2 separate regions of the Homo sapiens genome follow, and region 2 is linked to region 1. The links are contacts of gene promoters, found by promoter capture Hi-C in human tissues and cell types (Jung and others, 2019). All regions are on one chromosome and are shown on one strand. The core of a region is centred on a gene start or on the middle of the fragment in contact, and the rest is flanking DNA. Distances in the headings are between cores, read along the strand shown.

What was found. Contacts are between HindIII fragments. The study calls those that stand out against the background at their distance.
Region 2: a fragment that was not itself captured here is called in contact with the fragment with the promoter of THSD1 in region 1 in 1 of the 25 tissues and cell types used here (heart left ventricle).

Annotation. Positions count from the first base shown.
Region 1 is chr13:52,403,531-52,410,410 of GRCh38, forward strand. It overlaps THSD1 (thrombospondin type 1 domain containing 1), which reads right to left and starts at 2,642. Exons shown (of 5, transcript NM_018676.4): 1 at 2,501-2,642. RefSeq lists a silencer at 2,572-2,731. The HindIII fragment of the contact is 14,115 bases long and covers 1-6,880 here.
Region 2 is chr13:52,366,725-52,373,604 of GRCh38, forward strand. No RefSeq gene overlaps it. Among named protein-coding and RNA genes, the nearest start is that of LINC02333, 36 kb to the left of the region's middle. The HindIII fragment of the contact is 4,395 bases long and covers 1,148-5,542 here.

The DNA.
Region 1 (6,880 bases), core at 1,392-3,891:
GAGTACAGTGGCGAGATCTCGGCTCACTGCAAGCTCCGCTTCCCGGGTTCACGCCATTCTCCTGCCTCAGCCTCCCGAGTAGCTGGGACTACAGGCGCCCACCACCATGCCCAGCTAATTTTTGGTATTTTTAGTAGAAACGGGGTTTCATTGTGTTAGGCAGGATCTCGATCTCCTGACCTCGTGATCTGCCCATCTCAGCCTCCCAAAGTGCTGGGATTACAGGCGTAAGCCACCGCACCCGGCTGGAAAAGGCACTTATTTTTATATAGACTATTCAACTATAGAATAAGATACTGGGCATTTAAGACAGTTCTTTCATACTAGAGTCTAGCAAACTATGTATTAATATTAAATATAACCAAATATGTACTTTCTTAATGTTTAAGGTCCCCCCCATTATTCACATTTTTTTTTTTTTTTTTTTTTTTTTTTTAGACAGAGTCTTGCTCTGTCACCTAGCCTGGAGTGCAGTGGCATGATCTTGGCTCACTGCAACCTCCACCTCCCAGGTTCAAGTGATTGTCCCACCTCAGGCTTCTGAGTAGCGGGGATTATAGGTGTGCACCACCACGCTTGGCTAATTTTTGTATTTTTAGTAGAAACGGTGTTTCACCACTTTGGCCAGGCTGGTCTCAGATGTCTGGCCTCGTGATCTGCCCACCATGGCCTCCCAAAGTGCTGGGATTACAGGCGTGAGCCACCACACCCAGCCCACAGTTAATCATTTTAATAAGCAAGTATATTATATTCCAAATACATGTTACATCTTTTCAGATAAGAGCACAAATTAGTGGAATTAAGAAGACTGATTGAAATAAGCCAGAATTCAATGGAAGGGAAACTGGTGTGTCTTATTAGCTTTCTTTCAGCAAGAGCTGCTGAACAAAGGAAATACTGTACTTCCTGAAAGGGAAACAGAGATTTGAAGTGTAACTATGCAGATTAGGGCTCCTTCCTCTTCCCCGCCACCCCCACCCAAAAAAAAGAAAAGAAAGGAAAGAAGAAGAAAATTGTTTTGGGTGGAATTAGCCACAGACTTGACCCAATTCTTTCCTCGAACATGGACTGGGAAACCTGGGCAAAGTCAGCCAGTAAGATCCTTGCAGAACACATCACATCACTTGGGCAAGTGTGAGCACTTAAGACAATTACAATGCTTCTTTTAAGTCACTGAGACCTGGTAACCAAACTAAGAAGAAGCAAGCTCCCAAAAGTTGAACTGGCTTCTCTCAGATTTGTTTGCTTCCACGACAATAACATTTTTATTTTTGAAGCCCCAAATCATTACTGATTTAGTGATTATAACACATTTTCTTTCTTATGAAAATGATCGGTAAAACATAGAATGGTGAGACAATCTATATTTAGAGCTGAATGGAAAAAGACTTATAAAACAGACCAGCCTACTTGTCAATCATAATATGGAATATGATCATAACATTAGTCATAATATGTCTCTTTAATTTCTTTCTACCTTGCTTATTTTCTTTCAACATGTTGTTCTCAATACCTCGACTGACTTCTTACAATGTTTGCATTGAGAATTGTTCTAAGAAATTAAGAACTTAGATATATTTTATACACATTTGAAAATACTTCTACCTAGCATTCTTGTATGTAAACTTTAGAGACAAATTCTAAATGCATCAGCTGAGAAGGTGGGGAAAAGTTGTGAATATTCTCAATGGCTAACAGCATCACCCAACCTGAGACCCCATGTTTTTGCTGAAACCAGCTAGGACAAACGCTTCTAAATCTCCCTTCATAGCTGCAGAAAAAGTAAATGAATTACACTAATGTCCATGGGACCAATGATTCGTGAAAGAATAAAATGGAAAACGAAGCAGTTATTTTGTCCCTTCTGACCAACATGCACATGCTTGTGTGTATATATACCAATAGTATTTATTGGGAGGAAATCTCTAGTTCTAAAGCAGCTCGTGTAAACAGGCTTCATTTATCTGTTCATTCGAGTTTGCTCTGCCCTGGTCCCACAGGTTGGGTGCAGCGTTCCTGGGACGCCCTGGCTCGCCCCATCTACTCAGCTTCCCAAATGCCCGCAAGCCCAGTTCACGCCTGGAAGTCTACCCCTCGCGTCGTCAGCTTAAAGCCCTCCTTAATGAGGACCGTCTTTAATTTAATTTAATCCTTGTATTTCATACTTTTTGTATATCAGAAAGGATTTCTTTTTGGAAAGAAACAGTAGCTCAAGACGCGATTTTTCAAGGTTCTGTGGCCAGTCTCAGTCACTCGGCAACATCTGAGCCAAGGCAGAGCCAGGTTCACTTAAATTCGGGACTCCGAAGTGTGGAGACCAATACCCCTTAAAAGCGTCCCCTGGGGCCGAGGCGGGTGTGGGGAGGGGCCGCCACCGTCCACCTGCGCCTTCAGGCTGCGGTGAGGTGGCAGAGTCCGGAGGCATTTCCCGACCCCAGAGGAGCCTCCAAGAGTCTCGCGGCACGGGCGCGAACACCAGGATGCGGAGGGCGCTTCTTACCTTTCGAGACTGACGGGCAGCAACCCCAGGCCGTCCGGGCGCGTGGCGAGGCGGACGGGAAGGCTCAGGGGCGGCGAGGTAGAGCGCCAAGCATCCCGCGTCCCAGACTGCACGCCCTGACCCCGCGGCGTTCGGCTCCCACAGCCCCGCGGGGCCCGCCCCCGACGGCGTGGGGAGGGCGGGCGCCGGGAGGGCGGGGGGCACACGGGACCGGGCGTGGTCGGTTCCCGCCCCTTCTGGGCAGCGCATCCTTTCCTGCCGGTCCCCAGCTCGCCAGCTGCTGGACAGGAAACAGGCAGGAAACGCGCGGCCAGCCAAGGTCCTGCGGGAGGGGGTGCGGCCCCGGCAGACGCAGGTCCCCTCAACACACACCCGCATCCACAGCACACAGCCGGACCAGGGGTTTAACGAAGGACGAGCGAGCAATCTCCTGACACTTCACATTCAATCACTTCTACTCTAGTGTCATTTTCTTCAGGGAGACCACAAAAATAAGTCCTTGAAGCGGCACAGCATGTGGGCTGTAAACTTGCTTTCCCAAATGTCACTGAAGAGTTTCAAAAGAACATAGTTCAGGTAAAGTGCATCTCCATTTTCTTTCCCTGGGGTCAGAATTGGTATTAAAAATAACTAAACATTTTAAAAACTCTACTCTGCAAGTGTTAAAGTTCTTTTTATAGGAATGTGAATTAGTTCAGCCACTGTGGAAAGCAGTTTGGAGATTTCTCAACTAAAAACAGAAAGATCATTCGACCCAGCAATCCCATTACTGGGTGTATGCCCAAAGGAAAATAAATCATTCTGCCAAAAAGACACCCGCACTATGTTTATCACAGTACTATTTACAATAGCAAAGACATGGAATCAACCTAGGTGCCCATCAACAGTAGACTGGGTAAAGAAAATGTGGTACATACACACCACGAAATACTAAACAGCCATAAAAAAAGAACAAAATCACGTCCTCTGTAGCAACATGGATGCAGTTGGAGGACATTATCCTAAGTGAATTAACATAGGAACAGAAAACCAAACACCGAATGTTCTCACTTATAAGTGGGAGCTTAAACAACGGGTACTCATGGACATAAAGATGGCAACAACAAACACTGGAGACTCCAAGTCAAGGGAGGGAGAGAAAGGGGCAAGGGCTGAAAAACATCCTATTGGGTACTGTGTCCGGAATTGGTGGGTTCTTGGTCTTTCTGACTTCAAGAATAAAGCTGCGGACCCTCGCGGTGAGTGTTACAGTTCTTAAAGGCGGCCTGTCCGGAGTTTGTTCCTTCTGATGTTCGGATGTGTTCAGAGTTTCTTCCTTCTGGTGGGTTCGTGGTCTCGCTGGTTCAGGAGTGAAGCTGCGGACCTTCGCCATGAGTGTTACAGCTTTTAAGGCGGCGCGTCTGGAGTTGTTCGTTCCTCCCAGTGTGTCCGTAGTCTCGCTGGCTTCAGAAGTGAAGCTGCAGACCTTCGCAGTGAGTGTTACAGCTCATAAAGGCAGTGTGGACCCAAAGAGTGAGCAGCAGCAAGATTTATTGCAAAGAGCCAAGGAACAAAGCTCCCACGCTTTGCAAGGGAACCCCAGCGGGTTGCCACTGCCGGCGCGTGCAGCCTGCTTTTATTCTCTTATCTGGCCCCACCCACATCCTGCTGATTGGTTCATTTTACAGAGAGCGGAGTGGTCTGTTTTGACAGGGCGCTGATTGGTGCATTTACAATCCCTGAGCTAGACACAAAGGTTCTCCACGTCCCCACTACATTAGCTAGATACAGAGTGTCCACACAAAGGTTCTCCAAGTCCCCACAAGAGTAGCTAGATACAGTGTCCATTGGTGCATTCACAAACCCTGAGCTAGACACAGGGTGCTGATTGGTGTGTTTACAAACCTTGAGCCAGATAGAGTGCCGACTGGTGTATTTACAATCCCTTAGCTAGCCATAAAGGTTCTCCAAGTGCCCACCAGTGAGGAGCCTAGCTGGCTTCACCCAGTGGATCCCGCACCGGGGCTGCAAGTGGAGCTGCCTGCCAGTCCCGCGCCCTGTGCCCGCACTCCTCAGCCCTTGGGTGGTCGATGGGACTGGGCGCTGTGGAGCAGGGGGTGGTGCTCGTCAGGGAGCTCGGGCCTCACAGGAGCCCATGGAAGGTGGGGGAGGCTCAGGCATGGCGGGCTGCAGGTCCCGAGCCCTGCCCTGCTCAGGGAGGCAGCTAAGGCCCTGCGAGAAATTGAGCGCAGCGCCGGTGGGCCGGCACTGCTGGGGGACCCAGCACACCTTCTGCAGCTGCTGGCCCAGGTGCTAAGCCCCTCATTGCCCGGGGCCGGCAGGGCCCACCGGCCGCTCCGAGTGCGGGCCCGCCGAGCCCACACCCACCCGGAACTCGTGCTGGCCCGCAAGCACCGTGCGCAGCCCCGGTTCCCGCCAGCGCCTCTCCCTCCACACCTCCCCGCAAGCTGAGGGAGCCAGCTCCAGCCTCAGCCAGCCCAGCCCAGGAAGGGGCTCCCACAGTGCAGCAGCGGGCTGAAGAGCTCCTTAAGTGCCGCCAAAGTGGGAGCCCAGGCAGAGGAGGTGCTGAGAGCCAGCGAGGGCTGTGAGGGCTGCCAGCACGCTGTCACCTCTCAGTACTATGTTCATTATCTAGGTGACAGGATCAATAGAAGCCCAAACCTCAGCAACATGCAATTACCCTTGTAACAAACCTGCATATGCACCCCCAAATCTAAAACTAAAATTTAAAAAAGAGTTTTAAGTTTTTGGGAATATATGAGAGGATAGATTCCACCTTAACAGCTGTGCTTGTTAAATTGAGTAACTATGCAGTATGGTTTAACACTTGCTTTTCTTTTATGCAGAATATACCATTTGACAGCAAAACTAATATCCGGTATGCAGAATATACCATTTGACAGCAAAACTAATATCTGGTAATGGAAATCAAAGCACAGTGGTGGCCTTTGGAGAGCGATGACAGGAAAGAGGCACCAGGAAACTTTTAGGGGGCGACAGATATGTTCTACTGTTTGGAGTGTGAGTTACATGGATTTACTAAGCATTTGTTAAAACTTGTCTGACTGAAGATCTGTGCATTACAGTTTGTAAACTGTACCTCATTTAAAAAAAAATTTTTAAATATGTGATTTGCAGGTCTTTGACTCTATCACTTCATTTTTAAAAAGGTAGCACAAGTATTTACTTATATGTTACCAGAGGTATAAAATTTTCTAAGAACTTATATTGTCAGCCAGGTGCAGTGGCTCATGGCTGTAATCACAACAATTTGGGAAACCAAGGCAGGAGGTTTGCATGAGCCCAGTACTTTTAGACCAGCCTGGGCAAAACAGCAAGACTCCATCGCCACAATAAATAAGAAATTATTTGGGAGGCCAAGGCAGGTGGATCGCTTGAGCTCAAGAGTTCAAGACCAGCCTGGGCATCATGGCAAAACCCTGTCTCTACCAAAAATAGAATGTACTAGCCGGCTGTGATGGCACGTGCCTGTGGTCCCAGCTACTTGGGAGGCTGAGGCAGGAGGATCACTTGAACCCAGGTGGAGGCTTCAGTGAGCCAAGATGATGCCACTGCACAGGCTGGGTAAGACCCCGTCTCAAAAAATAAAATAAATAAAAAATTAGCCAGGTGTGGTGGCATGTACCTGTTGTCCCAGCTACTCTGGAGGCTGAGGTGGGAGAATTACTTGAGCCCGAGAGGTTGGGGCTACAGAGAACAGTGATCACGCCACTGCACTCCAGCCTACATGACAGAGTGAGACCAACCAATCTTGTCAAATAGTTACTTCTAGCAATACTAATTAAATCCATCCAAAGTTTCAAAGAAGACTTTAAGGTGATCATCCAATTTCACTGCCAGTAGAATTATCTAGTCTAATTTCCATTCACCAATTTACACTAGGATTCTTTTTCAAATACATACCACCCACTCCCTGGCATTTCAGTTTTAAAAGCAAAAGCTCAGTGGAAAGAGCAGGCATTGGAGTTACAAAAGTACAAAAATTATCTGGTGTGGTGGTGTGCACCTGTAGTTCCAGCCATCAGGAGGCTGAGGCGGGAGGACTGCTTGAGCCCAGAAGGCAGAGGTTGCAGTGAGCCGAGATTGTGCCACTGCGCTCCAGCCTGGGCAATAGAACCAGACCCTGTCTGAAAAAAAAAAAAAATTATATGGGGGTATAAGGAACCCAGAACAGGATAAAACAATCTTGAAAATGAAGAGCGTATTTGGAGGACTCACACTTTCCAATTTCAGAACTTACTACAGGCTGGTTCATGCCTGTAATCCCAGCACTTTGGGAAGCCAAGGCAGACGGATCACTTGAGGTCAGGAGTTTGAGACCAGCCTGACCAACAGCGAAACCCCATCTCTACTAAAAAA
Region 2 (6,880 bases), core at 2,095-4,594, 36 kb before region 1:
TTAAATAGGTATTCATAATTTACCATTTAGAATCAGAAATTTCTTAAGTTTATGAGGTTATTATGACCCTTATTTGCAGATTTTTTTAAGTAGAAAGAGAGTTTAAGATTCATGCATTTAAAGTAAAGTGCTTCAAGATACCAGTATTTTTATATTTTGTGTAAGGAATGGGGGGAAATAAGAATATAAATATAAACATATAAATATATAGCTTATTTGTGCATAAATGTATACTGAAGGTCAAATAAAAAACCTCTGGGGTAGAAGTTTGTGGAATGGGCTAAAAGAGATAGGAATGGAAGCAAGACTTTTCTGAATATATCTTTGTATAGAGATTTTCTTTTTAATCCATGTAACCATTTTACATATTCAAGGAAAAACCAGTGCTGGGCATGGTGGCTCATGCCTGTAATCCCAGCACTTTGAGAGGCCAAGGCAGGTGGATCACGAGGTCAGGAGTTCAAGACCAGCCTGGCCAACATAGTGAAACCCCATCTCTACTAAAATTACAAAAAATTAGCCAGGCATAGTGGCACATGCCTGTAATCCCAGCTACTCGGTAGGCTGAGGTAGGAGAATTGCTTGAACCTGGGAGGCAAAGGTTGAAGTGAGCCGATATCACGCCATTGCACTCCAGCCCGGGTGACAGTGAGAGATTCCATCTCAAAAAAAAAAAAAAGAAAAGAAAAGAAAAAAGAAGCTAACAGTAAAATTAAAAACAGACTGAAACAAATTACCCAAACTCTGTGTTGAATTGATAATATAGCCACACAGAGACAAAAATTTGGAATGAATTTTGAACACTGTGTAAGATATACATCTTACTACTGTATATTCTAAGGACAAAAAGAATTTCAAAAACATATCGAACTTCATACTGTATCTTATTTTTAGTAGTAAAGATAGCACTTTGATTTTGTGACTATTTTGTGTATGTTTTAGGACAAAGCAAATATTTTGATATTATTAGAAACTAAGGTGATCAGTGTGAGAAAAAGTGTTCATATATCAAATTATAGAAGCTAATATGTATTGTTAAAATCTGAATTGATCTGTGTATGAAAAGACACAATCAACAGAGTTAAAAGGCAATGCACAGAATGAGAAAAAATATTTGTAAATCAAACATCCGACAAGGGGTTCATATAAAAATATATAATGAACTCCTATGGCTCACAAAACAACTCAATTTTTTTAATGAGCAAAAGATCTGAAAAGACATTGCCCCAAAGAAGATATACACATGCCCACAAGCACTTCACTAATGATTAGGGAAATACAAACCAAAAACACAATGAGGCTGGGCGCAGTGGCTCACACCTGTAATCCCAGCACTTTGGGAGGTCGAGGCGGGCAGATCACTTGAGGCAGGAGTTCAAGACCAGCCTAGCCAACATGGTAAAATCCTGTCTCTACTAAAAATACAAGTTACGCTGGGTGTGGTGGCTCATGCCTGTAATCTCAGCATTTTGGGAGGCCGAGGAGGGTGGATCACGACGTCAGGAGATCGAAACCATCCTGGCTAACATGGTGAAAACTCGTCTGTATTAAAAATACAAAAAACTAGCTGGGCGTGGTGGCATGTACCTGTAGTCCCAGCTATTCGGGAGGTTGAGGCAGGAGAATTGCTTGAACCCAGGAGGCGGAGGTTGCAGTGAGCCAAGATTGTGCCATTGCACTCCAGCCTGGCCAACAGAGTGCACTGTCTTGTACACTGTTGGTGTGAATGTATAATGGTGTAATGCTATGAAAAACAGCATGGCGGTTTCTCAAAAAAACTAAAAATAGAAATAACCATATGATCCAGCAATTCCACTTCTGAGTATATAGCCAAAAGTATTGAAAACAGGATCTCAAAGAAATATTTTACAGCCATGTTCATAGCAGCATTATTCACAATAGCCAAGAGATGGAAGCATTACCAATGTTTATTGATGAATGAATGCATAAGAAAAATGTGGCATATTTGCAACATACAATATGTATGTTGTAAATACACAATGGAATATTACTCAGCCTTAGAAAGAAAGGACATTCTGACACATGGTACAACATGAATGAACGTTGAGGACATCATGCTAAGTGAAATAAACCAGTCACAAAAAGACAAATACTGTGTGATTTCTCTCATGTGAGGTTCCCTAGAGTGCTCAAATTCATAGAAACAGAAAGTCAGAATAGTAGTTGCCAGGAGCTGGAGGGAGAGGGAAATGGAGAGGTGTTGTTTAATGGGTATAGAGTTTCAGTTTTGCAAGATGAAAACATTTCGTAGATTGGTTCCACAACAATGTGAATATACTTAACACTACTGAACTCTACAATTAACAATGGCAAATTTTATATGCTCTTTACAATAAAAACATTTTAAATTACTTTGCTGTAGAGGGAGATGCTATCTTCACCATCTAAGGCTGTTTTATCTAAACATCCTTGAAAAGATAGTCCAGAAAAAAATAAAGGGCAATCTACATTCTACAAGACAACTGGCTCCATCCATTTAAAAAGTCAATGTCATTTTTAACAAAAGGGTATTTTGGGGGATAATGTAGAATAAAAGAAGGCATAATCAAGTGCAATGCATGAATCTTAATTGGATTCTGAATCAGAAAAAGAAGGGCTATAAAAGACATTTTGTGGGCACTTGGGGAAATCTGAACATAGACTGGATATTAGATTATTTTAGGGAATTGCTTTCTTAGGTGTAATAATAATAATATGTGTTTTGTAGAAGCACAACCTTCATTTTTTTTTTCGAGTCTCCCTGTCGTCCAGGCTGGAGTGCAGTGGCGCGATCTCGGCTCACTGCAATCTCTGCCTCCCGGGTTCACACTATTCTCCCGCCTCAGCCTCCGGAGTAGCTGGGACTACGGGCGCCCACCACCAGGCCCAGCTAATTTTTTTGTATTTTTAGTAGCGACGGGGTTTCACCGTATTAGCCAGGATGGTCTCGATCTCTTGACCTCGTGATCCGCCCGTCTCGGCCTCCCAAAGTGCTGGGATTACAGGCGTGAGCCACCGCGCCCGGCCGAAGCACAACCTTATTCTTAGAAGATACACTCTGAAGTGTCATGTGTATCTGAAAGAAATCTTCAAATTGTTGAACAACACATGTACAGTAAATTGAACTACATGAAATTGTTTCTATTCAATTTTTATTATAATTTCTTTGTTTTTTTTTTTTGAGACGGAGTCTCGCTGTGTCGCCCAGGCTGGAGTGCAGTGGCGTGATCTCGGTGCACTGCAAGCTCCGACTCCCGGGTTCATGCCATTCTCCTGCCTCTCAGCCTCCCGAGTAGCTGGGACGACAGGCGCCCACCACCACGCCCGGCTAATTTTTGATATTTTTTTAGTAGAGACGGGGTTTCACCGTGTTAGCCAGGATGGTCTCGATCTCCTGACCTAGTGATCCGCCCGCCTCAGCCTCCCAGAATGCTGGGATTACAGGCATGAGCCACCGCGCCCGGCCTTTTTATTATCATTTCATATACTTCAACCTGATAAATAAGTATAGCAAATATTAATGGTTGTTTCAGCCTGGTGATAAATATATGAATGTTACTATCCTATTCTTTCAACTTTTTTGATTACTTGGAAATTTTATTAATAAAGTTTTGAAAAAAAACAAAATAAGAAAAAAAGTTTGACATCAAACTCACGGAGGAAGTGAATGCTACTTTTACCACTTAGTACCTAATGATGGCAACAATGCCAAGAGAAGTTTCCGGGGTGGGAGCTGTTGGGGGCACCTGAGGCAGCTTTATTCCATCCACATCTTCCATTAAGAAGGCTTATTGCCACCCACAATAAGCATAACCCTACCTAAGAATAGTGTGCTTGGCTACTCTGGGCATACTGCCTATGGGGTACTCCTGCTCTGCAAGGAGCAGTAAAAAAAAAATTTAAATTAAATTAAATTAAAAAACAGTGTGCTTTAGCCCAAGCCTCCTAAGCACTAGATTTTGGCTCCTAAGGCGCACTAAGTGGATGCTTTGTGACCTGGGCGAGGTGCTTAATTCTCCAAGGACTTAGTATTAAGTAAATATGAAGAATAAGGAGGAAAGAGTTCAGGATGACTTCCACATTTCTGGCCAGAGTGACACCTTAGGAAGAGAAAGCGTAAGCATCCCTGGGGAGTTAGGAGTTATTTCAGGCCAAAGCACTGAAGGAAAGAGAGACCTTAAAGAGAAGCTTTAACAGTGGTATATTGGACTCAGTGCCGTCTTTTTATTTAATTATTTAATTATTTACTTATTTTTATTTTTTTACTTTTTGAGACAGAGTCTCACTCTGTCACCCAGGCTGGAGTGCAGTGGCCTGATCTCGGCTCACTGCAACTTCCGCCTCCTGGGTTCAAACAATTCTCCTGCCTCGGGAGAATCCTCCGAAGCAGCTCAGACTGCAGGCGCGCGCCACCACACCCGGCTAATTTTTTTTTTTTTTTTTTTTTTTTTTTGAGACAGAGTCTTGCCCTGTTGCCCAGGCTGGAGCACAGTGGTGTGATCTTGGCTCACTGCAAGCTCCGCCTCCCCACAGCCGGCTAATTGTATTTTTAGTAGAGACGGGGTTTCACCATGTTGGCCATGCTGCTCTCCAACTCCTGACCTCAGATGATCTGCCCGCCTTTCCCTCCCAATGTGCTGGGATTATAGGCATCAACCACCCTACTCAGCCTATATAGCCATCTAATTTAATATTGACCAAATGAAATTTCTTTTTGTACCCCAAGCTGATGAAGAGGAATGGAGCAATTTTGTTTTTCAAATATTCTATAATGAGCATACATTATTTTTAAGGAAAAATTATTTTTAAAGTGGTTCTACGGTATAAAACTCAGAAAAAGCAAAATTTTAATTACAAGTAATTATATAATTATCAGCTAAATAGTAAACTTTTAAGTTCATACATTTGAACTTTTATCAATCAATTTATAATAATAAAATGCCACGTGATGTGTTTTGGCAACAGTTGAGGGAGAAACTGGTAACAGCAGCAGCAGCAGGATGGGGGGGCACCACACCCACCCACCCACACCGGCAGCAGAGGTGGCATCCTGAGAAGAGGCAGGCAGTGAGAGACTGCCACAGCTGGAATGACCAGAGAACCATCAGCAGGGCAGGGCAGCTGTCGGCATGAACCATCTAGTCTCCCCAAGGAAGGGAAAAAATGGTGTGGGGGAGGTTGGAGATCCATTAACACTAGGAGCAAATCCTCCCCCTAATAGCCACAAGATGACTCACCGAATATATTTCCAGACATTAAAATAGATTATCTCTGATACCTACCAGGATTGTTATGTTTGGTTTTTGTTTTGTCAATGTAAAAAAAAGAAAAAAAAAAAGGTTAAGAGTAGAGGAAGACCTAGAACAAAAAGCAATTGTTCCTTGCTTTTTATCTCCCCAGCCTCAGTCCCACTTCCAAAGGGCAACCACTTTGACCTTTGTGGTTTTAAATTCTCCTGATGATCTTCAACTGTATGAATAGGATTAAGCTGCTATTTTGTGACACTATTGACTCTTGCAAGGACTGATAAAAAGTCAGCTTAATTCACCCCCCTAAGGTGCACATGATAGTTAACATCACAATTTTTAGTCCTATTGTCCACTCTAGTAATTTTGATATCCTTAAACTTTTGTTTTTAGTTCTATTAAATACAGACAGCACCTCTTGGCTCTCCATTTTGTGACAGGAGATTTGAACTCCTATTTCTCTTGAACTCCCCACCTTTGCTTCTACCTCCAAACTTCTTATTTTTTAGAAATGAGGCCTCCCTCTGTTGCCCAGGTTGGAGTACCTCTGGTGCAATCATAGCTCATTGCAGCCTCAAACCCCTCTACCTCCAAACTTTTCAAAGCTGTACTCTCCTAGATATCCATGACTGACAACATTTATATTCCCTTCAGTAACTATTTTTTTCTTTCTTTCTTCTTTCTCTCTCTCTCTCCCTCTCTCTCTCTCTCTCTCCCCCTCCCTCCCTCCCTCTCTCTCTCTTTCTTTGCTTTTTTTTTTTTTTTTTGACAGAGTCTCACTCTCTTGCCAGGCTGGAGTGCAGTGGCGTGATCTCAGCTCAGTGCAACCTCCGCCTCCCAGATTCAAGTGATTCTCCTGCCTCAAGCCTCCCGAGTAGCTGGGTCTATAGGCATGTGCCACCACACCCAGCTAATTTTCATATTTTTAATAGAGACAGGGTTTCACCATGTTGGCCAGGATGGTCTCAGTCTCTTGACCTCGTGATCTGCCCTCGTTGGCCTCCCAAAGTGCTGGGATTACAGGCGTGAGCCACCGCGCCTGGCCTGTCTTCCATAAGTTGGTTCTAATAGACAATAACCAATAAGCAGCATTAACATTATGAAAATGTTGGTCCACAGCAGAGCCAAGTAGTATGCTGTGATTGATTTTCCTCTGTGTAATCACAATGTCTCAACCCTGTGCTTCTATTTCTCAAAATCATGGTTAGTTTACTTTGTTGTTGTTGTTGCTTTGCCTAGTATTTTTTTGTTGTTGAAAGAAGAAATCTGTGCCATCTTACCCATTCTATTTCTTGGAATATTTTTCTTTTGAAAGCCCATTGATGACTCAGTTTAACTTAATTCATATTTGTTTTATGGTTTTCTTATAGAGTCTTTCAGAAAATAAAATTTCTAGGTGCTTATTTTCCTTTTCTTTGCCTGAAGTATATCTTCAAGTTCTTCCAACTGTATATTCCATGAAACACCTTTGTTTCCTGGATCCCCCATTCTTGCTCAAATATGAACTGGTGGCTTAGTCACCCACAAAACTGACATTCTGAGTCACATCTGCAGCTGCCTGAATCCCATGGCTTCCTCAGGATATTCTGCTCTTTTATTGATGGAGTACATGCTCTAATAACTCCTCAAGAAAA